Linked DNA regions of Homo sapiens: all the other regions are linked to region 5. Evidence: promoter capture Hi-C in 16 types of primary human blood cells and fetal thymus (Javierre and others, 2016). All regions are on one chromosome and are shown on one strand. Each heading gives the region's core, a stretch centred on a gene start or on the middle of the fragment in contact. The rest is flanking DNA. Distances are from core to core; before and after follow the strand shown.

The links. The method cuts DNA at HindIII sites, captures the fragments that hold promoters and counts their contacts. A CHiCAGO score of 5 or more calls a contact.
Region 1: a contact is called between a fragment that was not itself captured here and the fragment with the promoter of RAI1 in region 5, in 8 of 17 cell types (naive CD4 T cells, naive B cells, total CD4 T cells and 5 more). The highest score is 7.9, in naive CD4 T cells.
Region 2: a fragment that was not itself captured here is called in contact with the fragment with the promoter of RAI1 in region 5 in 5 of 17 cell types (M1 macrophages, total CD4 T cells, naive CD4 T cells and 2 more); the score reaches 5.8 in M1 macrophages.
Region 3: a contact is called between a fragment that was not itself captured here and the fragment with the promoter of RAI1 in region 5, in 2 of 17 cell types (total CD4 T cells and naive CD4 T cells). The highest score is 5.3, in total CD4 T cells.
Region 4: a fragment that was not itself captured here is called in contact with the fragment with the promoter of RAI1 in region 5 in 2 of 17 cell types (naive CD4 T cells and total CD8 T cells); the score reaches 6.5 in naive CD4 T cells.
Region 6: a fragment that was not itself captured here is called in contact with the fragment with the promoter of RAI1 in region 5 in 1 of 17 cell types (M1 macrophages); the score reaches 6.1 in M1 macrophages.
Region 7: a fragment that was not itself captured here is called in contact with the fragment with the promoter of RAI1 in region 5 in 5 of 17 cell types (fetal thymus, M1 macrophages, monocytes and 2 more); the score reaches 8.6 in fetal thymus.

What each region holds. Positions count from the first base shown.
Region 1 is chr17:17,973,849-17,977,964 of GRCh38, forward strand. DRC3 (dynein regulatory complex subunit 3) reads left to right here. Exons shown (of 14, transcript NM_031294.4): 2 at 4-114; 3 at 3,734-3,910. The coding sequence starts at 3,751. It overlaps LOC107984989 (a long non-coding RNA gene), which reads right to left. Exons shown (of 3, transcript XR_001752801.2): 3 at 3,708-4,116. Among named protein-coding and RNA genes, the nearest start is that of DRC3, 3.0 kb to the left of the region's middle. The HindIII fragment of the contact is 3,914 bases long and covers 1-3,233 here.
Region 2 is chr17:18,011,051-18,014,956 of GRCh38, forward strand. The region is part of intron 12 of DRC3 (dynein regulatory complex subunit 3); the gene reads left to right. It also overlaps the pseudogene LOC100419436. Among named protein-coding and RNA genes, the nearest start is that of ATPAF2, 26 kb to the right of the region's middle. The HindIII fragment of the contact is 4,361 bases long and covers 1-3,906 here.
Region 3 is chr17:18,057,907-18,061,868 of GRCh38, forward strand. GID4 (GID complex subunit 4 homolog) reads left to right here. Exons shown (of 6, transcript NM_024052.5): 4 at 962-1,063; 5 at 3,939-3,962. Among named protein-coding and RNA genes, the nearest start is that of GID4, 20 kb to the left of the region's middle. The HindIII fragment of the contact is 2,832 bases long and covers 535-3,366 here.
Region 4 is chr17:17,993,543-17,997,285 of GRCh38, forward strand. It overlaps DRC3 (dynein regulatory complex subunit 3), which reads left to right. Exons shown (of 14, transcript NM_031294.4): 7 at 757-876; 8 at 1,457-1,569. Among named protein-coding and RNA genes, the nearest start is that of DRC3, 23 kb to the left of the region's middle. RefSeq lists a silencer at 1,294-1,460. The HindIII fragment of the contact is 1,263 bases long and covers 761-2,023 here.
Region 5 is chr17:17,679,936-17,683,619 of GRCh38, forward strand. RAI1 (retinoic acid induced 1) reads left to right here and starts at 1,523. Exons shown (of 6, transcript NM_030665.4): 1 at 1,523-1,858. RefSeq lists silencers at 1,244-1,753, 1,784-1,923, 1,984-2,063, 2,075-2,247, 2,234-3,183 and an enhancer at 1,564-2,165. The HindIII fragment of the contact is 10,976 bases long and covers 1-3,684 here.
Region 6 is chr17:17,366,346-17,370,242 of GRCh38, forward strand. No RefSeq gene overlaps it. Among named protein-coding and RNA genes, the nearest start is that of NT5M, 65 kb to the left of the region's middle. The HindIII fragment of the contact is 1,908 bases long and covers 367-2,274 here.
Region 7 is chr17:17,349,112-17,352,860 of GRCh38, forward strand. No RefSeq gene overlaps it. Among named protein-coding and RNA genes, the nearest start is that of NT5M, 48 kb to the left of the region's middle. RefSeq lists enhancers at 2,320-2,899, 3,164-3,458. The HindIII fragment of the contact is 819 bases long and covers 1,315-2,133 here.

The DNA of each region.
Region 1 (4,116 bases), core at 27-2,526, 290 kb after region 5:
CAGGAAAATTCTGGATCTGTTATCTGTGAGGAGGCCACTCCGTTGACAGTTGTGTAAAACTCTGCTGCTTTCCCCAGCTCCAACCTCTCTGGTCTTCAACAACACTATCATCAGGCAAGTCAAAGGGGACCCAGGTTGGGTGGTAAACTATAAGATCCCCATAGAAGAGGACTGTTTGGGCCTTGGCCCTGAACCCAGGACAACTGTGAGAAACACTGTGAGCTGTGGCAATGATAGTCCCCAGTACCCTGGATACAGTTGAGTCATGATTAGGAAAATGAACTCTGCCACGTGCTAAGTGTATGAAGTTGGGCATGTTAATTAACCTTTTTAACTAGCTTCTGTTTTCTTATCTGGATATTGGTGAGTATTAGCCCTACATGTAAATTAAGTTTCTAGAAATTTCTCCCATCTACATCTTGCTAACACCCTGGTCATCTCTCACCTCAGTACTTTTGCAATTCTCAGTACTGTTGCTAGAGTGAGCTTCTTAAAAACTAAGATCTGATCACATTGCTTCCCTTATTTTTTTTATTTTTTGAGATGGAGTTTCGCTCTTGTTGCCCAGGCTGGAGTGCAATGGCACGATCTCGGCTCACCGCAACCTCCGCCTCCCGGTTTCAAGCGATTCTCCTGCCTCAGCCTCCAGGGTAGCTGGGACTACAGGCATGCACCACCATGCCCAGCTAATGTTGCTGCCCTTATTAAGCCCTAGGTGCTTTCCAGGGATTCTAGGATAATAACAAAACTCCCACAGACCTCTCCAAACTTGCATCACTTCAGCCAAAGTGCAACAAGTCTGTTCTCTCCCACCTAAAGGGCCTTTCCACAAAGTTACCTCCTCCTTCTTTCCTGCTTGTCCTTCCAATCAGCCCTGTCTTCCTTGGCCAGGCCAGGTGCCCCTAATGTACAATTTCATAGTTCCCTACACCTACAAATTGTCATGGTTTGTAGTTAAATATTTGTATTATTGTTTGATTCATGCCTGAAGCTGGGTTAAAGTCCGTCTGTTTTATTCACAGCATATAGCAGTTACTCACTACCCATGTGTGGACTAAATACGTGATCTCACACAAATGCAGAAGGGAGAAATTATCCACCTTTTACAGATGGGAAAGCCAAGGCTTAGATAGGTGAAGTGAGTTGCCAAAAGATGCACAGTCAGGATCCAAATCCTGCTCTGATGTGCTTAACAAATAGCATATGTAATAACAATCCCCCATTTCCTAGCATAGCAATTGCTGGGCTTGACTGAAAGCAAACTTGATCTGTCACAGGTACCAGGCCCTGATGAAGTAGGAGGGATAAGTCAGTTAAAGTTTTGAAATCAAAATTAAGAGTCATTTCCCAAAGTATAGCACCTTTTTTTTTTTTTTTTTCTTGATGGAGTCTCGCTCTATCACCAGGCTAGAGTGCAGTGGTGCACGATCTCGGCTCACTGCAACCTCCAACTCCCTGGTTCAAGCGATTCTCCTGCCTCAGCCTGTCAAGTAGCTGGGATTACAGACATGCGCCACCATGCCCAGCTAATTTTTGTATTTTTAATAAAGTCAGGGTTTCACCATGTTGGCCAGGATGGTCTTGATCTCCTGACCTTGTGATCCGCCCACCTCGGCCTCCCAAAGTGCTGGGATTACAAGTGTGAGCCACCGCGCCTGACCTCCCCACCCCCCCCCCAAAAAAAAGGCCAAACACTTTGCAGAAAACATCAGCCAAATATAACACATTAAAATTCCCCCAAAGACAAGTTGATGACAAGTTATGGGAAACCGCAGGGGAAGCCATTGCATAAGAGTGGGGAGCTAGAGAGAGGCCGAGGTCTGGAACTGTCTTTGGGGGTAGAATCAGTCACCCCAACGAGGTGGAGCCAGTGTGAACAGATTGGAGAGAGTGGGAGGAAAAGGACCAAGGTCTTGGGAGGACGGAAGGCACAGGTGGAGAAGGGGTAGGGGTTGAAGGGTGTGGAGGCTATGCCTCCCCTGGAAGCAAGAGAGAAGTGTGCACAAGAGCTCATTGGGACATTTGATGAGGGACAGTTCAGGGCAGAGGATGCATATTTGCAGAAGCTGCATCCAAGTGGATGGTCAGGGAGGCAAGAGGAGGGCAGTCTTAGAGGGAAGTCTCTAAGACCAGGTAACAGGATTGTATGGCCCAACCTGGCTTTTCAGCAGACACCATCAGCCCTGCACCAGGAGTTTCTCCAGCAGTGCCCAGTGGAATGAAAAACAGAGCACAGGGGCTGCCTAGCATCAGGGACCAGCAGGGCAGAAGGACAGGAGGTTCAGGGAGGCCCAGATGCTGGGAAGGCATGTAGACAAAGATAGGAAGTAGGGCCAGCAGGGAGGCAAGAATCAGGGGTGGAAAGTGGGGGAAAATATCCCTCCTGGATGTCCTCACCAAGAGGGTTGATAAGGATGAGAATGTGGTCCAGCCACGAACGGCAGCCTGGAGTCAGCCTCACATTGTGACTGACCAAATCTACAGATCCCCCCTGTGCTGTGGTGTCTCAGTCAAATCCCTCTGGACCATTAGCAACAGAATCTACTGGAGGCTGGGCACGGTGGCTCATGCCTGTAATCCCAGCACTTTGGGAAGCGGAGGCAGGTGGATCACCTGAGGTCAGGAGTTTGAGACCAGCCTGGCCAACATGGTGAAACCCCGTTTCTACTAAAAATACAAAAAATTAGCCAGGCGTAGTGGTGGACACCTGAAATCCTAGTTACTCAGGAGGCTGAGGCAGGAGAATCGCTTGAATCCGGGCGTTGCAGTGAGCTGAGACCGCGCCATTGTGCCCCAGCCTGGGCGACAGAGCGAGACTCTGTCTCAAAAAAAATAAATTAATTAAATTAAAAAATAACCTACTGGAGCTAGCTTAAGTAGAAGAGGATTTCATGTGAGAAACAGGAAACTCTCATGAGGCCTGGACCTAGGGACATTAGGGACTGGAAAGCCAGCAAGAAGGAGGCAGCCTCTGTCTGTGTCGATCTGTCTGTCCTTTGTCTTTTGTTTTCTGATTCCCAGGTTCCCATCTCTGCTTTTCTCTGTGCATCTGCCTCCTCCCCCTCTTGCTCTCTGCTTAACTATGTACCCAGCCAGCCCACACTCCCTATTCCTCCCCAGCTCAAGCAGCCAGCTCCGATGGGCACTCTCATTCCACAGCCTCAACTTCACATCTCCCACGGGGAGGACGTGAATGGGCAGCTTGGGTCAGGGGCTCCCTCTGCACCAGGAGAAGCTTGTGGTGTGGTGTGGGGCATACACACATGACGGCCTGGAGGGGGTGAGGTGCTCAAGGAAGAGGAGCTGCAGGCTGACAGGCCTGGCTGGGGCTGCCCAGGGAGCACAGTCAGTGGTTGGTACCCACAAGCCCAAGTGAGGATGGGCATACAAAGTCAGAGGCCTGACACAGGGCCACAGTCATAAGATGAGTCAAGATCACAGGCTAGGGAGACCAGTGTGGACACCAGTCCAGTGGGTCCAGCGAGGGTCCCAGCTGTGGCTGTAGGGTCAAGGGATGAAACCCTGTGGACAGGCCCAGGTGGTTGCCAGGAAGCCCTGGAGCAGCCTTGGCGTAAGTATACAAACCCCGAGATGCAGCAGACCCAGGGCTGGGCGTGGGGCATTCCTCAGAGTGCCAGTGGCCACAAGACACTACAGGGGGAAACCTCAGCCAGACCCTGCCCTCAAACAGAGAAAGAAGCAGGCCGTGAAGGAAGAATGCGGTGTTTTTTAGGGAAAACGTGGGGGAAGATGAACCAGCCGTGCAACTCGATGGAGCCGAGGGTGATGGACGATGACATGCTCAAGCTGGCCGTCGGGGACCAGGGCCCCCAGGAGGAGGCCGGGCAGCTGGCCAAGCAGGAGGGCATCCTCTTCAAGGATGTCCTGTCCCTGCAGCTGGACTTTCGGAGTATGTATCCAAGGTTCAGGGGTGGTGGCCAGGGTGGGCCCTCCCTGGCTTTCTCTGCTCCATCTTCAAGCCCCAGGATTCCATGCAAAGTCCACGGTCGAGGTTCCCACATCAGCATTAGGGCCTACCTGGGTTACAAGGCATAGGAGCAGCACAGATGTTTGTAAAGCGTCATACTTAGTGTCTTCATCATTTGAATATCCACG
Region 2 (3,906 bases), core at 583-3,082, 330 kb after region 5:
AGGTTCAAGTGATTCTCCTGCCTCAGCCTCCCGAGTAGCTGGGATTACAGGCATGCGCCACCATGCCCAGCTAATTTTGTATTTTTAGTAGAGATGGGGTTTCTCCATGTTGGTCAGGCTGGTCTCAAACTCCTGACCTCAGGTAATCTGCCCGCCTCAGCCTCCCAAAGTGCTGGGATTACAGGCGTGAGCCGCCACGCCAGGCCTAGGATGAGGTTTTAAAGATTATGCCAGTGCAGAAGCAGACCTGCCCCAGCCAGCGCAGCAGGTTCAAGGCGTTTGTTGCCATCAGGGATTACAATGGCCGTGTCACTCTGGGTGTTAAGTGCTCCAAGGAAGCAGCCACTGCTGTCAGAGGGATCACTGTCCTGACCAAGCTCTCTACTGTCCCCGTGCAGAGGCCACTGGGGGACCAAGATTGCAAGCCCCACACTGTCCCTTGCAAGATGACAGGCTGCTGCGGCTCTGTGCTGCTGCACCTTATTCCTGCACCCAGGGGCACTGGCATCCTCTTGGCCTCTGTGCCCAAGAAGATGCTGCTGATGTCCAGTATTGACAACTGCTACACCTCAGCCAGGAGCTGCAGTGCCACCCTGGGCAACTTTGCCAAGGCCACCTTTGATGCCATCTCCAAGACCTATAGCTACCTGCCCCCTGACCTCTGGGAGGAGACTGTGTTCACCAAGTCTTCCTCTCAGTAATTCACTGACCATCTTGTCAAGACCCACACCAGAGTCTCTGTGTGGAGGACTCAGGCTTCAGCTGTGGCTACAACACAGGGTTTTGTTTTGAGATGGAGCCTTGCTCTATCGCCCAGGCTGGAGTGCAGTGGTGCAGTCCTGGCTCACTGCAACCTCCACCACCTGGGTTCACATGATCCTCCTACCTCAGCCTCCCGAGTACCTGGGACTACAAGCGCACACCACCATGCCTGGTTAATTTTTTGTATTTTTAGTAGAGATGGGGTTTTACCAATGTTGGCCGGCCAGGCTGGTCTCAAACTCCTGACCTCAAGTGATCCGCCCACCTTGGCTTCCCAAAGTAACACAGGGTTTTTATATAAGAAAAATAAAGTGAATTAAGCCTGTTTAAAACAAACAAAAACACAGATACATAAACCAATGAAACAGAATAGAGAACTCAGAAATTAATCTATATATTTACAGCCAACTGATTTTTGACAAAAGCGCCAAGAACACTCACTGGGGAAAAGACAGTCTCTTCAATAGATTTTGCTGGGAAAACTGGATATCCATATGCAGAAGAATGAAACTAGATTCCCATCTCTCACTCTATACAAAAATCAACTAAAAATGGATCTAAGACCTACATGTAAGACCTGAAACTGGCAGGGCGCAGTGGCTCATGCCTGTAATCCCAGCACTTTGGGAGCCTGAGACAGACAGGTCGCTGGAGCTCATGAGTTGGAGACCAGCCTGGGCAACATGGCAAAGACCCACCTCTCTATAAAAAATACAAAAATTAGCTGGGCATGGTGGTACCTGCCTATAGTCCCAGCTACTCAGGATGCTGAGGTGGGAGGATGGCTTGAGCCCAGGAGGTGGAGGTTGTAGTGAGCTGAAATTGCACCACTGCACTCCAGCCTGAGCAATAGAGCCAGACTTTGTCTCAGAAGAAAAAAAAAAAGACCTGAAACTATAAAATGACCAGAAGAAAACAAGAGAAATGCTTTAGGACATTGGCCTGGGAAAAAATTTTATGAATAAGACCTCAAAAGCACAGACAACAAAAGCAAAAATAAATGGAATATATCAAACTATAAATCTTCTGCACAGCAAATGAAACAACAGAGTGAAAAGACACCCTACACAATGTGACAAAATATTTGCAAACTACTTATCTGACAGGGTATTAATATCCAGAATATACAATGAACTCTAACATCTCAATAGCAAAAAAACAAACAATTCAATTAAAAACATCTGAACAGATGTTTCTCAAAAGAAGACATACAAATGGCCAACAAATACATTAAAAACTTTTCAGCATCACTAGTTATCAGGGAAATGCAAATAAGAACCAGAATGAGGCATCATCTCACCCCACTTAGGATGATAATTATCAAAAAGACAAAAAATAACAAATGCTGGTGAGGATGCAAAGAAAAAGGAACTCATATACTGTAAGTAAGAATGTAAACTAGGACAGCCACTAGGAAGAACATTGTGGAGGGCCCTCAAAAACTACAAACAGAACTATCATATGATCCAGCAATCTCACTACTGAGCATTTGTCTAAAGGAAAGGAAATCACTATATTGAAAACATATCTGCACCCATGTTTACTGCAGCACTGTTCGCAATAACAAGATACAGAATCAACCTAGGTGTCCAACAACAGATGACTGGATAAAGAAAATGTGGTACCTATACACAATGGAATACTATTCAGCCATAAAAAAAGAATGAAATCCATGGCAACATGGATGGAACTGGAGGACATTATGTTAAGTGAAATAAGCCAGGAACAGAAAGTTAAACACCTCATGTTCTCACTCATATGCCGAAGCTAAAAAAGTTGATCTCATAGAAGTAAAAACAAGAACAGAGGCTTCTAGAGACTGGGAAGGGTAGAGAGATGGAGGAATAGGGAGAGATTTGTTAAAGGATATACCAAATTACAGCTAGATAGGGGGAATAAGTTCTAGTGTTCTATACCACTATGGGATGACTATAGTTGACAATAATATAGTTTCAAATAGCTAAAAGGAGGATATTGAATGTTCTCAACACAAAGAAATGATAAATGTTTGAGACGGATATGCTAATACCCTGATCTGATCACTATACATGATAGGTGTTGAAACATCACTATGTACCCCATCAATATGTACAGTTATTTGTCAATTTTTTTAATGCCAATTTTTTTTTTTTTTTTTGAGGTGGAGTTTCACTGTTGTTGCCCAGGCTGTAGTGCAGTGGTGCAATCTTGGCTCACTGCAACCTCGGCCTCCCAGGTTCAAGCTATCCTCCTGCCTTAGCCTTCCAAGTAGATGGGATTACAGGCACCCGCCACCATGCCCAGCTAATTTTTGTATTTTTATTCACCATATTGGCCAGGCTGGTCTTGAACTCCTGACTGAGGTGATCCACCCACCTTCCCGCCTTGGCCTCCCAAAGTGCTGAGATTACAGGCATGTGACACCGTGCCCGGCCAGTGCCAACGTGTTTAAACAAAGAAGTTGCTTTGAAAGAAATGTGTCTTTACAGCCACAAGGACCACAGAGCAGGGCAACAGCTCAAAAAAGACTCAGGAATACCTGTTTGCACAGCCCCTGCCTCCACCCTAGTGCTTTCAACCTGCAGAAACTGGAGAGGGATCTGGAATATTCTACCCATAAAAACTATTCTAAGAGGGAAAATTGAAGTAGCCACCACTCTAGGCCACCCAAAGTCCAGAAACAACTTGTAACTCACATTTCAAAACAATTCCCTTAAACCCAGTTTCCTTTTGTTTTCATTTTACAAATGTCACACAGTTTTTCATAACCAATTCTAATCATGTATGTTTCTAAGCAGATTTCAGTTTCTGTTGCTTCTCACAGCTTTTGAAGCTGTTTTCTACATATTCAAACTCTGAGGGGTATGATTTCTCTGCCTGGCTTAGAGCTCCACTATGACCCACCTTTTAGAATGAAGGATGAGAACCTTTTCGTGATGGGTTGACACTGTGGTTGTAGTTATCTCTAAAATAACCAGGACACCCACTCCTAAGCACACTGCCAAGGCTCACCGAAAACAGGCTTTACACACCTTTGAACCATTCCCAGAGCCTGGCCTGGGACCTTGTACACACATGGAAAGAACTTAATAATTTCTTGACATTTCTCCCTTGTGACTGTGCTAATTGGTCCCCCAGACACCCCATTCCACATATCAGCTAACC
Region 3 (3,962 bases), core at 701-3,200, 380 kb after region 5:
CATTGCAAGCTCCGCCTCCCGGGTTCACGCCATTCTCCTCCTCAGCCTCCCAAGTAGCTGGGACTACAGGCGACCACCACCACACCCAACTAATTTTTTCATATTTTTAGTAGAGACAGGGTTTCATCGTGTTAGCCAGGATGGTCTTGATCTCCTGACCTTGTGATCTGCCTGCCTTGGCCTCCCCAAGTGCTGGGATTACAGGCGTGAGCCCCCACACCCAGTGGATGTATAGATTTTTTGTTCTTGATATTTTTCCCTGAACGATACAGTATAACCACTATTCACTTAGTATTTACATTGAATTAGGTATTATAAGCAATCTAGAGATGCTATAAAGTATAGGGGAGGATGTGTGTAGGTTATCTGCAAATACTGCACTGTTTTATATCTGGGACTTAAGCATCTGCAGATTTTGGTATTCATGGGGGTCCTGGAACCAATCTCTCGCAGATATCGAAGGACAAGGCTATCATGTGTTTCTAGTGTCTGCTTAGCTAGCTGGCCCAAGCCCCTAGATCATGCAGAGACACAAGCTTCACAAAGCCCTCTTCTCTGAGACTGGGCAGGCTGTTTCTAAGCTGTTTTGCATGGCTCTTTTTGCTACTTCGGATTTACTTGCAGAGGTCTTCTCATTAATTTTTCTTAGCTTTCGTCTGTTTATTTTGTCTGTCTGTTCACCATTCCCATCCTTTGGCCTTTTCCTCAGCCATGTTAACAAGGCAGGTGTAGGGCAGTGGGGCCCCAGCTGGAGTCCAGGTATCTGCCCCAGGGTTGAGTCTGCATTCAATGGGGTGACCATAGGGCCCCATCTGTTACTTGGTCTTAGCTGCCCTTTTGGGAGCCACGTCCCTAGCTGTCATGCCTTGGGAAGGTGAGTTTACCTGGGCACATAAGCATAGTTCTGAGAGCAGCCTCTCCTTCTCTCAGTCAATCGGCACACTCTCTTTTCTGCTTTCAGGGCAAGTTTCTGGCTTTTTATCAGTATGCAAAATCATTTAACTCAGATGACTTTGATTATGAAGAGCTGAAGAATGGAGACTACGTCTTCATGAGGTGGAAGGTAAGTTCCCACCAGGTGGCCCTCCAGACTCCCAGCAAGCCAGGCCCTGTATCGCACCTACATATTCACTCTAACCAAGGGCTCCCCATGTCCAGTGCTCGTCACAGCTGGTTGTCATGGCAAAGTCTTCATGGCAGGGTCTTTGCACGCCTATAAAAAGTGGGCCCAGCTCCAGGGCACGCACTGGTTAACTGCCGATGTCCCAGACAGCTCCTCCTCGCTGTGCTTTTGGTGGGTAGCAAGTGGATTTGGGCCTAGGTGGCTGCCTCTAACATTGTCTTCTCCCTTTCCTTTCTCCCACCCAAGAATCTTGTTGAACCCCCAAGTTGAATCACTCCAAGTGTTCTGTGGATTCAAGGCAGAGCCAAACTTGCTTTGAACTTAGTCATCAGTTGTACCCAGATCCCTCTACAGGCTTAAACACCATCCGTGGGCCAGGTGCCCTCCACCACATCCTTTTCCCAGAGCTCAGGAAAGTCTCACCTCCTCTACTTCCCTCCAGCTCAGGAAATGAGGGACCGGGAATGGAACACGGGTTTTTGACTCAGCAGACCTCAGAGAGCCCCACCTGACTGACTTGATGGATTGGCTTTTAGCTGCGAGGTCATTTGTGCTCCCTGCTTTGATAACGTGATATTTACAGCCCCAGAATAGCAAAATCAGGAAGCCAGTTTGTTAAATAACTTTGAGAACATACCAACCCCTAGTCCCCAGTCTGCAGGGAAAAAGTCGTTTTATCTTGAAATCTTGTCAGCTTTCATAAAGATGAATCATATTGAGTTGCCTTTCCTGGTCTTTATTTTGCATAGCTAACCACTTTAGGAAGTGGGGATCGGCCGGGCGTGGTGGATCACACCTGTAATCCCAGCACTTTGGGAGGCTGAAGCAGGCAGATCATGAGGTCAAGAGATTGAGACCATCCTGGCCAACATGGTGAAAACCCATCTCTACTAAAAAATACAAAAAATTAGCCGGGCATGTTGGCATGCCCCTGTAGTCGCAGCTACTCAGGAGGCTAAGGCAGGGGAATCACTTGAACCTGGGAGATGGAAGTTGCAGTGAGCTGAGATCACGCCACTGCACTCCAGCCTGGCGACAGAGCAAGACTCCATCTCAAAAAAAAAAAAAAAAAAAAAAGAAATGGGGATCACTGGGCGCGGTGGCTCATGCCTGTAATCCCAGCACTTTGGGAGGCCAAGAGAGCCAGATCACGAGGTCAGGAGTTCGAGACCAGCCTGGCCAATGTGGTGAAACCCCGTCTTTACTAAAAATACAAAAATTAGCCAGGTGTAGTGGTGCACGCCTGTAATCCCAGCTACTCGGGAGGCTGAGGCAGGAGAATCACTTGAACCCAGGAGGTGGAGGTTGCAGTGAGCCAAGATTGCGCTACTGCACTCCAGGCTGGGTGACAGAGCAAGACTCTGTCTCACCAAAAAAAAAAAAAAAAAAAAAAAGAAGTGGGGATCACCACTCTTCCAGTAGGTTGCCAGATGCAGAGAGTAAACAGGGAACAGTATGCTCACGAGCTTGCCATCTAGCGGGAAACATGTCAACTAAACAACCTGTTAAAGGAAGTTTATTGTTTGAATTTTGTTTGTTTTGAGACGGAATCTCACTCTGTTGCCCAGGCTGGAGTGCAGTGGCACAGTCTTGGCTCACTGCAACCTCCGTCTCCCAGGTTCAAGCAAGTCTCCTGCCTCCGCCTCCTGAGTAACTGGGACTACAAGCGCGTACCACCACGCCTGGCTAATTTTTGGGTTTTTTTGTTTGTTTGTTTGTTTTTTGAGACAGTCTCACTCTGTTGCCCAGGCTGGAGTGCAATGGCGCGATCTCGGTTCTCTGCAACCTCCCCGTCCCGTGTTCAAGCAATTCTCCTGCCTCAGCCTCCCAAGTAGCTGGGATTACAGGTGCCCGCCAACATGCCCTGCTAATTTTTTGTATTTTTAGTAGAGACGGGTTTTCGCCATATTGGCCAGGCTGGTCTCAAACTCCTGACCTCAGGTGATCCACCCACCTCAGCCTCCCAAAGTGTTGGGATTGCAGGCATAAGCCACCACACCCGATCTGAATTTTAAAATTAATTTTAAAAGCCACAATTTTAGAAGTTGAATAAGGAATGGGAGGGTGTCTTAAATTTGTTTAAAAAGCAATGGGCTTGTTTTGCCTCCAAAGAATGTCTCAGAGTGGCTCATCTGTGGTCCTTTAGTAGACCACCTGAGGCCCTGGAGCTTCTGACCTCATCTCTCTGGGAAAGTAGGTGCCAGGACCTGGGTTTCCAGCTTTCAGCTCCAGCAGAGGTGGCAAGCTTGCCTCTCTCCTAAGGTCCCTGGTAAAGAACAGTACCGTTCTGACTGCTTTTGACAAGGCGTCAAGCTCTTGGAGGGGGTGTCACAGGGGCTACTGGCAACTGCTTTGCACTCAGAATGGTCCACAGACCTACAGAAGCGACTCACTGTTCTAGATGTTATCAAGCATCTGTTGACAGTTCTGAGAACTGGAGCAGAAACTTCGCTCTTCCCAGGTTGATTGTCTGTGGTCTCTGAAAGATAGAGAGGCAGGCAGACAGGCAGGTGAGTAGGTATTGATTTATATATTAGATGTTTCGGCCATGGTACCTTCTCTGAATTGCTGATCCTAGTGAGCTCAAGACACAGTTTGTCACTTTAGTATATAGAATACTCCAGGAGCACATGGACGCTTTTTAGAAGTCAGGCTGAGACCCCACGGGCCCGCCATCACCCAGCAAGTCTAGGTTAGACTATGAGATCCTATATTTTTCTCGAGTGGTCCTTAGAACCCCCTGATGCTTAACAGGGAGGCCCCGTGGGTGGTCAGAGAATGCTATCTGTTACTGACCCTCTTCATCTGTGTGCAGGAACAGTTTCTGGTCCCAGATCAC
Region 4 (3,743 bases), core at 142-2,641, 310 kb after region 5:
GGCTCAAGGCCAAGCCAGGATTCACCCTAAGTTGGTGTCATCCCAGGAGCAATATTAACAGCTGAGCTCCAGAGGGAACCAGGCCATCAGAGGCTCAGGCCTGGCTCTCAGGGGCAGAGTCAGGGCTGGAGGTAGAGACCTGAGTGTCATCTGAGGATTGCCAATTGGCAGTAGTTGAAGCCATGGTACAGGTGGGATCACCTGGGGCACATGGAGTGAGCTGGGGGACGGGGACTAAGTTCTAGAGGTGCCAGCATTCCTGGCCAGGTACAGGGGGATGAGCCAGTGCGGTGGAGAGAGCCAAGGGCCAGACCCTCGTGACCAGCCCTATGGCCTCACTCTACCTCTGTCCTGTTGTCCTCCTTCCCTAAAAGAGGGCCAGAAGGCCTGCTGAGGGCTGTTGGGAGTGAGAGAGCAAGTCCTCTGTGGAGAACACCCAGTCTGGGGCGAGGGGAGCGCTCCATTGCTGTGGCTCCTGCCCTGGAGATGGCCCCGGGAACCCCAGCCTGCCACGCTGCCTTCCGCTCCTCCTGGTCTTTCCCTGATTTCCCTGCGCTCACAAAAACCTGGTGAGGGTCATCAGGAGATGGGCATTCTCATCCACGAGACCTCATGGCTTTCACAGCCTTCATGCAGGCCCCTGTGCAACACCCCTGCCCATGCGCGGGAGGCTGCAGCATGGCAGAGGCGGCATGGCAGAGGCGGTGTGGCTCGGAGGAACCTCTGGTAACAATGCCACTCCCGTTCCCTGGTCAGAAAAAGCTTGCGGAGGCTAAGCACCAGTACAGCATCGACGAGCTGAAGCACCAGGAGAACCTGATGCAGGCCCAGCTGGAGGACGAGCAGGCGCAGCGGGAGGAGCTAGAGAAGCACAAGGTACCGTTCCGGCAGGCTGCACGCCCTCGGCCCCCTCAGATGCCCACAAGAGGGCACTGATCAAGTAAAACGGTCCTCAGGGATCCCCAGGCTCTGAAAACACAGAAATCATGCTCCCTCCACAGGGCCTGATGCCCTCTCCCTTCCTGGCTCATCTGCTGTCTGCCCCAGGGCCAGCTCCGTCTCAGTCCAGACCCTGACCCTACTCCTTACTGGCATTCCTGCCTCCAGCTGCTGGAGAGAATGTGCTAAAAACAGTCTGTCAGAGGCCCCTTAAGACCCTTAAGGCAGTTCCCCATGACATGCCAGGAACGGCTCAGGTCCTGTAGCCATGGCCCTGAATTCATGACTGGACCCAGTTGGCCTCTTTCCCACCAGTCTCCACCCCTCCTTGCAACCAGACTGAGAAATGTATAACATTCTGGAAACAGCCTGCAGTTTTATGCCTCTGCACCTCTGCACATGCCATTCTCTTTGTCTGGAACATGCTCCCTCCTGACCTGCCTTCCTCATGGGCCTGTGAGATGATGCAGGGGCCCCTGACAGGAGCCGTCCTACCTACGTGTGTTTCTGCCTGCAGACTGCGTTTGTGGAACACCTGAATGGCTCCTTCCTGTTTGACAGCATGTACGCTGAGGACTCAGAGGGCAACAATCTGTCCTACCTGCCTGGTGTCGGTGAGCTCCTTGAGACATATCCTTCTGAGTTCATGGCTGTCTCAGAGCCTCTGCCACCAGCCTGCCTTGGCAAGGCCCCTTCCGCTCTAGGCCTCAGTTTCTTCATCTCTCTTGTAAGACCTTGGGAGGTAAAATCTCCACTTGAGAGCAATGTACCCAACAGGCAGTTCAGAGTCCGGTCAGCTGAGCTGCATGGGGGAGATGCTGTCTGGATTTCAGGGACATGTGTAGTATCTGGTCAGCATGGCATGGGCTGGCCATGTTTGGCAAGCCAGGTTTTCAGAGGTGGAGAAATGGATTGAAATGTGTTCTCATTAGCCATACTCACTTGTTCTTGTTGTGCACTTGGATCTGGCATTTATTGTTTTCTCAACCACCCCACTAGGCAGGTACCATCATTAACCCCATTTTATAGTTGGGGAAACATAGCTTGGCTGTCCAGGGTCACCCCATTAGAGGCCAGCTTTTGAAGCTTTGTCTGTGGGGCCTGAGAATCTCATTCTTTCCCCAGTTGCCTGGAGCCCAGAGGACGTGGTTGGTACCTGTCATTAGGGCTGAGGCTGTGACCATCGATCAATGGGCTTAAGTTGTGAGCTGAGGGACTCAGGACAGAATCAAGGAGCTCCTGGATCTGAGAGCTCTGAGCTAAGGCATCCAGTCACAGGTGAGTCTGTGGAGCCACCTTCACTGGATAGAGAAAAATTCACTCAAAAACCTGACATTCTGGGCCTGTGAGGTGGCTCATGCCTATAATCCCAGCACTTTGGGAGGCCAAGGCAGGAGGATTGCTTGAGGCCAGGAATTTGAGACCAGTCTAGGCTAGGCAATGTAGTGAGACCCTATCTGTATTAGTCTGTTTTCACGCTCCTGATAAAGATATACTTGAGACTGGGCAATTTACAAAAGAAAGAGGTTTTTGGTTTTTTTGTTTTTTTGTTTTTTGAGACAGCGTTGCGCTGTTGTTGCCCAGGCTGGAGTGCAATTGCGCAATCTCAGCTCACTGCAACCTCCGCCTCCTGGGTTCAAGCGATTTTCCTGCCTCAGCCTCCCAAGTAGTTGGGATTACAGGCATGCGCCACCACACCTGGCTAATTTTTTGTATTTAGTAGAGACTGGGTTTCACTATGTTGGTCAGGCTGGTCTCAAACTCCTGACCTCAGGTGATCTGCCTCGGCCTTCCAAAGTGTTGGGATTACAGGCGTGAGCCACCGTGCCCAGCCAGAAAGAGGTTTAATTGAACTTACAGTTCTACATGGCTGGGGAGGCCTCACAATCATGGCAGAAGGCAAGGAGGAGCAAGTCACATCTTACATGGGCAGTGGGCAAAGAAAGAAAGCCTGTGCAGGGAAACTCCCATATTTAAAACCATCAGATCTCATGAGACTCATTCACTATCATGAGAACAGCACAGGAAAGACTCACCCCCATAATTCAATTACCCCCCACCGGGTTCCTCCCACAACACATGGGAATTATGGGAGTTACAATTCAAGATGAGTTTGGGTGGAGACACAGCCAAACCATATCACCATCTCTAAAAAAAACCAAACACACCTGACATTCTGGAAAGAATGAGGGCAGGGTGGTGAGGAATAGTGAAGAGCAGGGCTCCAGAGCTGGGTTGTTTCTGCCAGCTGGTGACCCAGGTTTGCCTTGGCTGTAGCCCTGTGTAGCCGTGTGACTTTGGGCAAGGCATTTCATCTCTCTGGGCATCAGTTTCCATCCCACAGGATCACCAAGGTCCTGTAGGCTTTACCTGGTTGACTCCAAGGACTCCGTGTCGCAGGCCCTTTTGTACCCTCAGCTGCAGATGAGGAAACTGAGGCCCAGAGAGGTGAAGTGACTTGCCAGGGTGGGTCCTGGAAGCAGTGGCAGAGCCAGGACTTGAACATCCCCAGCACAGCTACAGCAGCTGAGCACCAAGACAGGCCCTCAGTAAGGGTGCCCTTCCAGATAGCACACCAGAGACAGAAACGCACACTGCCTGCTTCCCCAGCTGGGACCGGCTCGCAGGCCCCCAGGGTCCCCAGGCCTCTCTTCTGGGGCCTCTCTGAGCATGTCTGCCTTCTGCTCTGTAGACTCCGCAATGGTTTCTGCCTCCTTCCTTCACACAGGCCCCATTCCTGAATCCCTCAGGCTGAGGGTGGGGATGCACCAAACACACATTTTACCTACATCTCAATCCTGGCT
Region 5 (3,684 bases), core at 273-2,772:
AAGGACTGTGGGGACCTGTGTTGATTCTGTCCTGTAGCTTGAGAACCTGGACAGGGGACTTCACCACTCTGCGCCTGTTTCCTCATCCACAAAATGTGATGAGCCGACCTCACAGAGGGGGCACCAGGATCTAATGAGACCATGCACAGAAGGGGCACAGCAGGCCTGGGACAGAGTGAGGGCCCCCCATCTATCACAATACCTTATTTTGCAGATGCAGGATTCACTTGTCCCAGGTCACCCACAAGCTCTGATGCCTTGACCAGCTCCCCTCTGCCCTACCAAAGGACAAATGAGGGAGGCTTCGATGGGGCTGTTAATGGGGTCATATCCCACAGACCCTAGAGCCTGGGTGGGGCTGAGAGGCTTCCCAAGCAGGTGGCAGTGAGCTCCCACCTGAGCTATGGCAAGTAGAGACCTAGGCATGAAATTGCTCCGAGGTCTGTACCTTAAGTTTCATGCAAGGACTCTCTCATTCAACATGCCTCTGTTTAAAGTCTGCCAGTGGCTACCTTCCTTGCACTAGAATTGCAAACAAATTCCTCACTGAGCTCTCTGCAGCCCTGCAGGCTCTGGCCCTCCCGATATGGCTCTGACTTCAATGTGCCCATTACTTGTCCCCTTGCTGACGGCCTCCTCACAATTCCACTTACTCACCAAGTTCTCTCCTGCCTCAGGACCTTTGCACTTGATGTTCTTTCTGCCAATGATGCTCTTCCCAGGAGGGCAGGCCCCTGTAGTCCCAGCTACTCAGAAGGCTGAGGTGGGAGGACTGTTTGAGGCCAGGAATTCAAGTTCGGCCTGGGCAACACAGCAAGACCCTGCCTCTAAAAGAACAAAATGCTCTTCCCAGACTCTACCCATGGCGGTTCCTCTTGCTATTTAGATCTTTGCACAGACAGGCCTCCTTCTCTCTCCCCCAGCCAAGGAGCCCTAGCCGTCACTTCACCTGCTAATTTTCGTCCTAGCACTTACTGCTCTAAAATTATCTTCGTCATGTATCTAAGCATTTGTTTGCTGTCTGTCTCTTCCCACCAGGATGCCAGCTCCACGACAGCAGGGACCGCATTGTCTCTGCTGATTCCTCAAGACTCAGCAAGGTGCCAGGTGCCCAGTAAATGAAGTTTACATGAAGCCAATGGAGTTTTGAAATCGAAAATGTTTCTCAAACTGCAAAGAAGTGGGCACAGGTGAGGGCTAATGGTGGGGTGAGGGTGGGGGCCTGGCCTGACGCTGGAAGCTCCTGTACGCAGGGCGCTAGTGTCCTCCCAGGCCGCACCGGGATCCCACCGCAGAGGCCCCCTCCCGCAGGCCGGCCAGCGGGCGGGGGGCGCGCAGTGGGGCGCGCGGACCGCCAGGGGGTGCTGTCGGGGCGCGCACGGCCCACCTGGCGCCCGGGGCCGCGAGCGAGCGCAGCCAGGCCGCCCGGGAACTTTTTTCCTCGCGCTCTTGCTCTCCTTCTCCCCCCGCGCGTCGCCCGCCCGCCCGTCCGCTCGTCCGCTCTTCCTGTGCGGAGGGGATCGCATTCCTCGCGGCACCCGCGGACACCAGGCAGGCCCGGCCGGGTGCGCGGCCAAGGCCCGCTCCCCGCGTCCCCGGGCGCCGCCCCCGCCCGCGGCTGGGCTCCGAGAGACGAGTGGGAGAGCGAGTGCAGCGAGGGCGAGAGGCGAGCCGAGCAGGCCGCCCTGCCCGCGGCCCTAGCGCCGGCGCGAGGAGGGGGCGCCGCGGCCCACCCTCCTTCCTGCCTGGCCGCGGGCCGGCCGGGCCGCCGCGCCCCGACCCCCATGGCCACCCAGGCCTCCGGGCCGCGAAGTCGCAGCGCCAGACCCAAGGCCCCCGAGTGAGCGCGGGCGCCGAGGTGAGCAGCGAGCGCCGGGGCGCGGGGGGCGCAGTGTATCCTGCCCCGGGGCGGGGGCGGCGCGAGGCGTCGGGATCCTAGGCCGGGTGATGAGCCGAGGCGGGTTCGGACGCCGAGCGCGCGCGCTGGGTGGAGATGTGGGGTCCGCGGGGTCCTTGCTTTGTGTGGTGTGGGGGGTGCGCGAGGTCACCGGATGGACGTCTGGGGAGCTGCAGGGTGGGGGCGCCCTGCGCCGCGGCTGAGGGTCTTCTGGGGGATGTGCGGCCAGCTGAGGTCGGGTGGGGGCATGGGGGCGCGAGGGGCGAGTGTGGCAAGGGATCTGCTTGCGCCGAGGCGCGGAGTCTTTGCGGAGCGTGGGGTGGGGACGTGGGGTGCATTCGCGGGGCGCCGGGGGCGGAGGTGAGCTTTGTGAGTGCGTCCGAGGTGGGGGACGGGGAGCTGACTTCCCCATGCGTGACCCGGGCCCGGCGTGGCCATCGCTTGGGAGTCAGGGCCGGCGAAGGCCGTGCGTGGCGAGATGGGTGCTCGGGCTCTCTGCGGTGTCCCTACCCGGGCAGCGGCCCCGGGGCCTGTGCGCAGGCCCCGAGGCCGGGCAGGAAGCGGCCCCCGCGACCTGGGGAGCTCTGTAGCGGCCAGGCCCGGGAGGCACGGGCCCTTCGGGGATGACGTCACGGGCGGGGGCCCCGGACACGCGAGCCTTGCGCCCCACAGACGGCGGCGCAGCCCGCCGCCCTTTTCGAGGCCGGCCCCCCCTCTCACGCGCCTTGAAGGCAGGGAACCCGGGAGGAGGACATGGGGGCCGAGTGCGGCGGGGACAAGGGGTGGCAGGACGCGAGGGTGACATTTGGAGCCTGGTCGCGCCAGGGGCCTCCGTGGTGGGGCGGAGGGGAAGCGAAACACCAGCCAGGCCCTAGGCCGTCGCGGCCCCAGCTTCCTGGGGCGCCCGTTTTCCCGGCTAGCAGTTTTCTTTCTTGGGGCTCTTGGTCGTTATCCAGTCCACGCAGGGGCCGGAGTGCGGGCTGCCGCGGTGCTCTCCTGCGCGGAGCCCGGGCTGGCGGGGGCGCGGCGGGCCTCGGGCTCTGAATGGATGGGAGCGAGTGTAACAATGCGCCGGTGGGGGCTGGGGGAGGGGAGGCCGCGCGCCTGAATGGCGGAGCCGGCCGGGCGCTGCTCCGCGCGCCGCACACTCTCCCGCGCCGCCTTCCCCGCGGTTTCGGCGGGCCCGGATTCAGGGACCCACTCGGGATCTGCACGGTTCCTCCCACCAATACTGTCCCCCGCCCCCCTTTTATGTCTTTCCAATGCAGTAGTGTGTTGAGAATTCAAGGGCATTACATCTGGTTGCAATCCAGTTTCATGCCGCTGCCGGGCTGTTAAGACCTCGCGCTGACGTCAGAGCAGGGGAATTACTTCTTTTTATTTTATCTTTTTTTAGTTGTCTGCTGCCCTGGGAGGAGAGGCGGGGGTGGGTTAGGCTAGCTCTGATGTGGAGGCGCCAGCGTGATGGGAGCCCCGAGCTGGGGGCTCTGCTTCTCTTCCTGCCCCTGCCCCCCTCCATTCTCCATACAGTCCTCGCTCTGCTCAGGGTCAGGCCCACCCCAGGTGGGGGGCAGCCCTCGCTGCAGACTGAATGGTGGCCCCTCCCTGCTGACCACACAGCTGGGTTTTCAGAGGCTTTCCTGGGACGTGGCCCTCGGGATCTAGAAACTGGAAAGGAATCTTCTAGTTTCCCACCCCTCCCCCTCTTGACAGGCAAGCCGGTATATTCGGGGCCCAGGAGCAAGGAAAAGTGGCCTTTTGCGTGACACAGAAGTGGACACATCATT
Region 6 (3,897 bases), core at 71-2,570, 310 kb before region 5:
TGAAGATCTGCAAAGAGAGAAACCACTCCCATCAAGCCAAACCTTAGTGGTATTAAGCCCTTGAGATTTGGGGGTTGTTTGTTACTGTAGCTTAAAGTGACCTCTCCTGACTGATACATGATACAAACAAATAATAAGAGTGAAATGTTTCCCATTTTATTGTTGAGAGACTGGGATATCGAGAACATTCAGTTAAGCATTAGCTCTTATTATAATTCCAATTCCTGTGTCTAAATGGAGACCCTGAGATGTGGAGTTGAATGCAAGAAGTTTGTTTGGAAGCTGATTCCTGGAAGCACTGATGGTGAGGTGGAGAAGTGAGATGGTGAAGGAAAAGGAATTTGATTACTGGGTGCAGGGATGAGAAGCTTACTGCTGTGGGTAACTGGGGTTTGGTCCTTCTGGGGATCTCTGGGAGACTGTGCACAGCATGCTTCAGGTGATCCCAGCCCAGAGGTACGGGAGCTGGGGATTTACCCATCTGCTTCCATCAATTGTTAGTTGAGGGCTGCTCCTGGGGTGTCAGCTGTCAGGCAGGCCCTCGGGCTTGCCCTGGGCACACAGCAGCATGTTCTTTGGCCAGGGGAAGTCTTCGGGCAGAGGCCCTGGCTTTGCAGGGAGGAGCTGTTGGTGAGAACAGACTTTGCCTGCTCTGGGAGTGCGGGGGAGGCATCCTACTTTACAGATGAGGAAGAGAGCTCTTGGGAGTCATCTGTGCCACAGCCTTAGCATGACCCCTGGCCCTTCCGACTTCCGGGCTTACGTTTTGGATCGCTGAGCCTCTTGGTGGGAAAAGCATAGAACACCAGGACGGGACCTCCTGTCCTGAGTCTCAGCTCCTGGTGGGAAGGGACTGCGTCTCTTTTGCTGTGACCAGCAGCTCTGCATCTGTGGAAATGTCCCGCAGGGGAGCAACCCAAGACCCAGGCGGGCTCTCAGGGACCCTCGTGGGCTGCCAGCTGGACAGCAGCCCAAGGGTTTGATGTGGGGCTCTCTTCCTTGCTGTGTGAGTCTGGGACCTCTCTGGGCCCTGGTTGTAATATGTGACCCTGCTTTGCCCAGAATTTGTGCACAGAGCAGATGACATGCTGGGTAGAATGCGAGGTACTGGAGCCACTGAGCACAGAGCTGGGATCAGCGCAGCGTTCTAATCTGTAGGGCAGTCGGCACGGCTGACAGGCAAAGCTGCCAAGGCTCAGCGAGGGAAGGGAGGCCGGAGGGGCTGGGGTCTGGGGCACACTCTCGTCTGTCCTCCGTCCCTGGAGGTGTTTCCTCTCCCCAGTCCCTGTTTGCTATTGACCCCCTGGCATCCATGCATTAATCACCCGCCATTTGGACACATTTATTTAGTACCTTCTAAGGCCCTGCAGGAGGAGGAGTCAAGTGAGGCTTCAAAGAGACGTATAATTGAATTAGGATGAAAAGCATAGAAACACATAACTCAGGGCTCAGAAATGCATTTTGATTGACGGAGCACAGAGTCTTGCCGAGAAGTTGCTCCTATGCTTGAAGCCCCCAAGGGAGGGACTTTGCCTGCCCTGGGATGAGAATCTACACCCTCCCGATCAGGTTTTTGGATTTTAGGGATGGAAAAGAAAAGGTACTTGGAGACATCCCAGAGAGGCCTCTGACCGAGATGATGGCGAAGGCAGGAATAGGGCTCTGGTGTCTCCAAGACTGAGCCAGGCAGGGCTCTGGGGGCCTTGGAGACTGTGGGATTGATGCTGCTGAATGCCAAGAGACACTGGGGTGATGTCAGCTGGACTTCCTCTCTGGAGGGTCAGGACTCACCCACGTGGTGCTGGACGGCCAAGCTCTCATTCATTCTGTGGGTCTGAGAGGGCAGGAGATCCCACACCACTGACTGGGTGAGTGACTGCTCAAATGGGATTTAAAATAACTTCAGGCAGGGCACTGTGGCTCACGCCTGTCATCCCAGCACTCTGGGAGGCTGAGGTTGGTGGATCACCTGAGGTCAGGAGTTCAAGACCAGCTTGGTCAACATGATAAAACTCTGTCTCTACTAAAAATTAGCCGGGCATGGTGGTGTGCCCCTGTAATCCCAGCTACTTGGGAGGCTGAGGTGGGAGAATTGCTTGAACCCGGGAGGTGGAGGCTGTAGTGAGCTGAGATTGCGCCATTGTACTCCAGCCTGGGCGACAGAGTGAGACCCCATCTCAAAATAAAATAAAATAAAATAAAATAAAATAAAATAAAATAAAATGACTTTTAAAAAATAAAGAGGTATGAATAAAAACAAAAACAACACACTGAAGCTTGGGGAATGCAGCAAAAGCAGTGCTAAAAGGGAATTTTCGACCTGTTAAATGCTTATGGGAAGGCCCGGCGCGGTGGCTCAAGCCTGTAATCCCAGCACTTTGGGAGGCCGAGGTGGGTGGATCACGAGGTCAGGAGATAGAGACCATCCTGGCTAACATGGTGAAACCCTGTCTCTACTAAAAAAATACAAAAAAATTAGCTGGGCATGGTGGCGGGTGCCTGTAGTCCCAGCTACTCCGGAGGCTGAGGCAGGAGAATGGCATGAACCCGGGAGGTGGAGCTTGCAGTGAGCCGAGATCACGCCACTGCACTCCAGCCTGGGCGACAGAGCGGGACTCCGTCTCAAAAAAAAAAAAAAATGCTTATGGTGAAAAACAAGAAAGATCTCAAATCAACAACCTAACTTTACAACTTAAGGAACTAGAAAACAAAAACAAAAACAAAACAGAATAAGCCCAAATAGCAGAAGAGAGGAAATAATTAAGATTAGAGCAGAGATAAATAATATAGAGAATAGAAAAACAATAGAGAAAATCAATGAAACAAAAGTTGATTCTTTTAAAAGACCAACAAAAATTGACAAAACTAACAAGAATGACTAAGAAAAAAAAGAGAAAAAACTTAAATTATCAAAATCAGAAATTAAAGTAGGGACATTACTACTGATTTTACAGGAATAAAAAGGATTATAAGAAAACGCTATGAACACTTGTATGCCAACAAATTGGATAACCTAGATGAAATGGAGAAATTCTTAGAAATACACAAACTATCAAAACTAAATCACAAAGAAATAGAAACTCCAAATAGACCCCTCACTAGGAAGGAAATTGGCTCAGTAATCAGAAACCTCCCAACAAAGAGAAGTCCTGGATTGATGGTTTCACTGATGAATTCTGCCAGAGATTTAAAGAACTACTCACACCTGTAATCCTAGCACTTTGGGAGGCTGAGGCAGGAGGATTGCTTGAGCCCAGGAATTTGAGACCAGCCTTGTCAATATAGTGAGACCTCATCTCTACAAAAAGTTTAGAAAAAAAATATCTGGGTATGGTGGTAAGTGCCTGTAGTCCCAGCTTTTTGGGATCTTGAGGTGGGAGGATTGCCTGAGCCCAGGGGTTAGAGGCTGCAGTGAGCTATGATTGTGCCACTGCATTCCAGCCTGGACAACAGAGCAATACCCTGTCTCTCTCTCTGTCTCTCTCTCTCTCTTTTAATTGTTTTATTAGATCCTGACCAGCTCACAGAGGGAGGACTCTCACCCACATTTTACACACAAGGAGACAAACTCAGAGGCAGAGCCAAGTCTGCATGTCCAGGCTCTCTGAGGGCCACGCCGTGCCAGCCCCCTTCCACCCTGGTCCCTGGCCTTCGTGTGGTGAATTCTGTGTTATGAATGGGGCCCTCTAAGATTCTTCCCACATGAGAAATTCTGTGACTCCAAGAATCAATATTTGAATTTCTGAAGCTCAACTGAAACCCAAACGCCAGTGAATCATGACTAACTTTTTTTTTTTTGAGACAGAGTGTCACTCTGTCGCCCAAGCTGGAGTGCAGTGGCTGGCTCACTGCAACCTCCACCTCCCGGGTTCAAGCAATTTTCGTGCCTCAGCCACC
Region 7 (3,749 bases), core at 474-2,973, 330 kb before region 5:
ACTCTCCTGGGGCCAGCCACACCCTGAAAACATTGTGACTATAGCTTGGGGTGCAGAAAACAACTTGGCTTGTTTCCATCCTGGGGGTCCTTCTGATGACAGAAACTCAATCCTGTCCAGATTTTCTCAGCCACATCCTGGTTTCTCCCTCCCTCCTCCTGCCCAGGGAGAGCCCCGGGCCTGGGGGCTGACTTGGTGCAGGGGTGTGGGTCGGGTTGCTGAGAGCAGTGTTCACGGACCCCGAGGGAGCTGTGGAGGGGCCCTGAGGCCTTCTGTCCACAAAGAGGGGAGCAGGGCCTGGTGGGGTACCACTGGGGGACATTCCCTCCTGCCTCTTACACCAGCCAGGGAATCTTTGTTGAGTCTAGGGCAGGGCAGGGCTGGGCAGTCTCCGTCAGCTCCTAACCAAGCATCCGCAAGAGTAACATGCTCTGAATCCTTCAGGAGACGGACTGTTGCGAAACCTTTTAGACTGATAATTGCCATCAGTTTTAAAGGTCAGTTTAGGAACTCCATGCTCCAAATTGCCACATTTGTTCTCTGCTGTTATCATCACTCACCCCGAGGTGGGCAGCTGCTTCAGCCACATAATTTATTTAAAGAAAAAAAAATAATTGCAGGGGCAAAAATGTTTCAGAACATGACCCCACCCGACGGTCTCAAAGCAACTTGCTGTGACGTTAACAAGCACTTCGAGGGGTGCCTGGGGCTGCCGAGGCACTGTGGAGCAGCAGGAGGAGGCCCCGGGGGCCTCAGGTCCCAGCACGGTCTCCTATGTGGAAGAAGGGGCCAGCCCCTGGCTGAGACGCCCTGCAGAGACCCAGGGCTGGGGGGAGCTTGCTGAGGTGGAAATGGGAAGCAGGCGTTGATGAGTGAGGTGCCGTCTGCACCTGGATGCTCAGCCGGCTGCTGCCGTCCCCATTGCACTGACCTTGGCTGAGACCCCAAATTCATGATCGTGTCAACAGTCTCCTGATTGAGGCCAGGCGCAGTGGCTCACGCCTGTAATCCCAAAACTTTAGGAGGCTGAGGCAGATGAATCAGTTGAGGCCAGGAGTTCGAGAGCAGCCTGGCCAACATGGTGAAACCCTGTCTCTACTAAAAATACAAAAATTAGCTGGGCGTGGTGGCGGGCGCCTGTAATCCCAGCTACTCGAGAGGCTGAGGCAGGAGAATCGCTTGAACCCGGGAGGCAGAGGTTGCAGTGAGCCAAGATCGCGCCACTGCACTCTAGCTTGGGTGGCAGAGAAAATTCCATCTCAACAACAAAAAAATTCTGATTGAAATGAAGGTCACTTTCTTGAAAGCTTGGGAAGCTTGTGTTTTGCCTCAGAACCAGTTTTTGAACCCCAGAAAAGAAGATCCACCCCCGTTAGGAGAGCTAGGCCTGGTTCTGCCCCATGGCACATCAGCTCTATCCCTCCCTTATCCACCAGGCTGGCCTCTCAGTGACTCAGCTCTCGGTGAAAGTTGTGATTCATTTGAAAATATTGGAAAGATTCAGAGCTCTAGGACCAGAGCCCCTGGAAGGGGTGACATCCCCCAGGTGGAGAGGGCGCTGGGAAAGCAGGTTTGTGGAGCATGTAGGAATCGTGGCCGCACGCTCAGGTATGTGGGGAATGTGCCCCTGTTTCTCTGTCCTGCCAGAGGGTGGAGGAATCTGACTCCCCTACCTGCTCTTCAGCAGCGGGGCCTCCAGCAGGGGGGCCTCTAGCAGAGGGGCCTTGTCATTGTCCCCATGCTGCTCCCCCTTGGCCCTTCATCCCTGTCTGTGCAGGGTGTCCATCTGTCCTCGGTGAGGGGCCACTGCTGCCTGGCCTCGCCCCCACCCTGGGGACCCTGCTGAGGATGGGAACACTGCTCCTGGCCCTCAGACCTCTCTGGGGTTTGTGGTTCCCCGAGCCTGGGGTTCTGACCAGGGGTGGGCTGACCACAGGTCACCTTCTGAGGGACCCCTGGTATCTCCTGCATGGACTCCTCGAGTGCCTGAGCCCAGGGGGAGAGCAGCCTGGGCCTGTCCAGGGCTCACTGGCCCAGGTTCCCCACCCTAGGCCAGCTCTTCTTGACACATGTAGGCTGTGAGTCCTCACCCCGTGGGGTCGTCAGGCCAGATGAGGCCATGCATGTGAGGAAAGCTTCTGATCCTTCTCCAGTCCACGGCAGTGCCATTCCCACCTGTGGGGGGGAGGAGGCAGGCTCGGGAGGTGCAGTTACGTTCCCGAGGCCATGCGGCGTTCGACCTGGGTCAGCCTTGCTCAGTGTTTCTCAGGAGGCCCTCCTTTTGTCCACGTGGCCTTTTCCTCAGACGTTTTTGTGAAGGACGATGTGGCAGAGCCCTTCTGGCTGGGCCCTCTACCCGTCTCCACCCCAGAGGGCCCAGGGACTGCGCAAGCTGCTGATGGGGACCCCCACACTGAGCGGGGTGTCCCATGCCTAGGAAGGACAGATTCCTTGGCCAGCGTTGCTGAGCCTCTGTCCTGTCACTCACCCCCTTCCAGGCTCCGAGGGATGTGAGGACTTCAGACCACACACTTCCCAGGGCACATGTGTCGCTGGGGATCCCTCATCAGTCCATTTGCACCTGTGCTGTGGGGAGCCGGTCTCTGCTGCACTTGGGCAGCCCGCCCCGGCGGAGGGCAACCCCTTAATGAGCCTTAGCAGGTGGCATGTGGGCCAGCGTGTCCCAGCACGAGACGTTCTTGTGCTGGGTCCCTTCAGCTTTAGCCTCAGTGGGCAATTGGCCCAAGTCCCTGGCTGCTTCCCCACTGCAGCCCCTACCCAGCTTGGGTGGGGTCCTCACTGCCCACCCCGCCCCCCGCCACCTTGGCCCCCTTCCAGGTTCCAGACTTCCACTTGCGTGTGTCAGAAACGCAGCTCAAACCCACCCATGTGCACGTGCGCAAAGCTCGTTGGCCTGGGAGGCCCAGGGCACGCTCACCCCCAGGGGGTCACACAGTCTGACCAGGCTTTCGCGTCCTTCCTGCTCTCTCACTGCACTGTCCGCTTCTGCTTCCCAGCCTGTGGACGCTCCCTGGAGGGCAGAGCAGCTGGCACACCATGCCCATGCTCTGAGCGAGCAGCTGAGCTCTGGCCCACAGTGGTTGCAGATGATGTCGTAGAAAGGGCCCAGAAATAGCGAGGGGTGGTGGTGGCGGCAAACCTGGCAGCAGAGCCTGTGACAAGTGCAGTGACGCCTCACAGCGGGCTCAGGGGGTGGGTGGCCTGGTCTGAAGTCACCATAAGCAGAACAGGCTTCGCACCAGGACATCCGGGTCAATAACAGCCGGCCCCAGGCTGGCGATGACTCATGTTGGAGGGGCTATGGCCAGTGCCGTGGAGGACAGGCGTGGGAGCAGTCTCACCAGATTAAGTTTACTTCCAGCATTTGGGTCTAAACCCTCCAATGAACAGATGGGCTGGGGATGTGGCCTGTTTGCCGCAGGCGACAGAGGCTGCTGTGTGGCGAGTACTGCGGCAGGGCCTGCTCTGCGTCCCGTGCACCCTGGGGTGGCACTAATGGCACTTTTCAGCCCTCGGGTTCCATCACGTGGTCTTCTTACATGGGCTGCTGGGTGGTCACGGGGCGGGGGGTCACATGACTCTGTAAAATGTGTCCTCATTCACGAGGGGCCCAAATGCTGGGGAGGGAGGGAGGCCTGGGGCAGCCCAGCCAGGCAGGGAAGCTCGGCGGCAGGAGCCGCAGCCCAGGGCAGAGGAAGGGTGGCTGTCCCCCCAACTCCCTTCCCAAC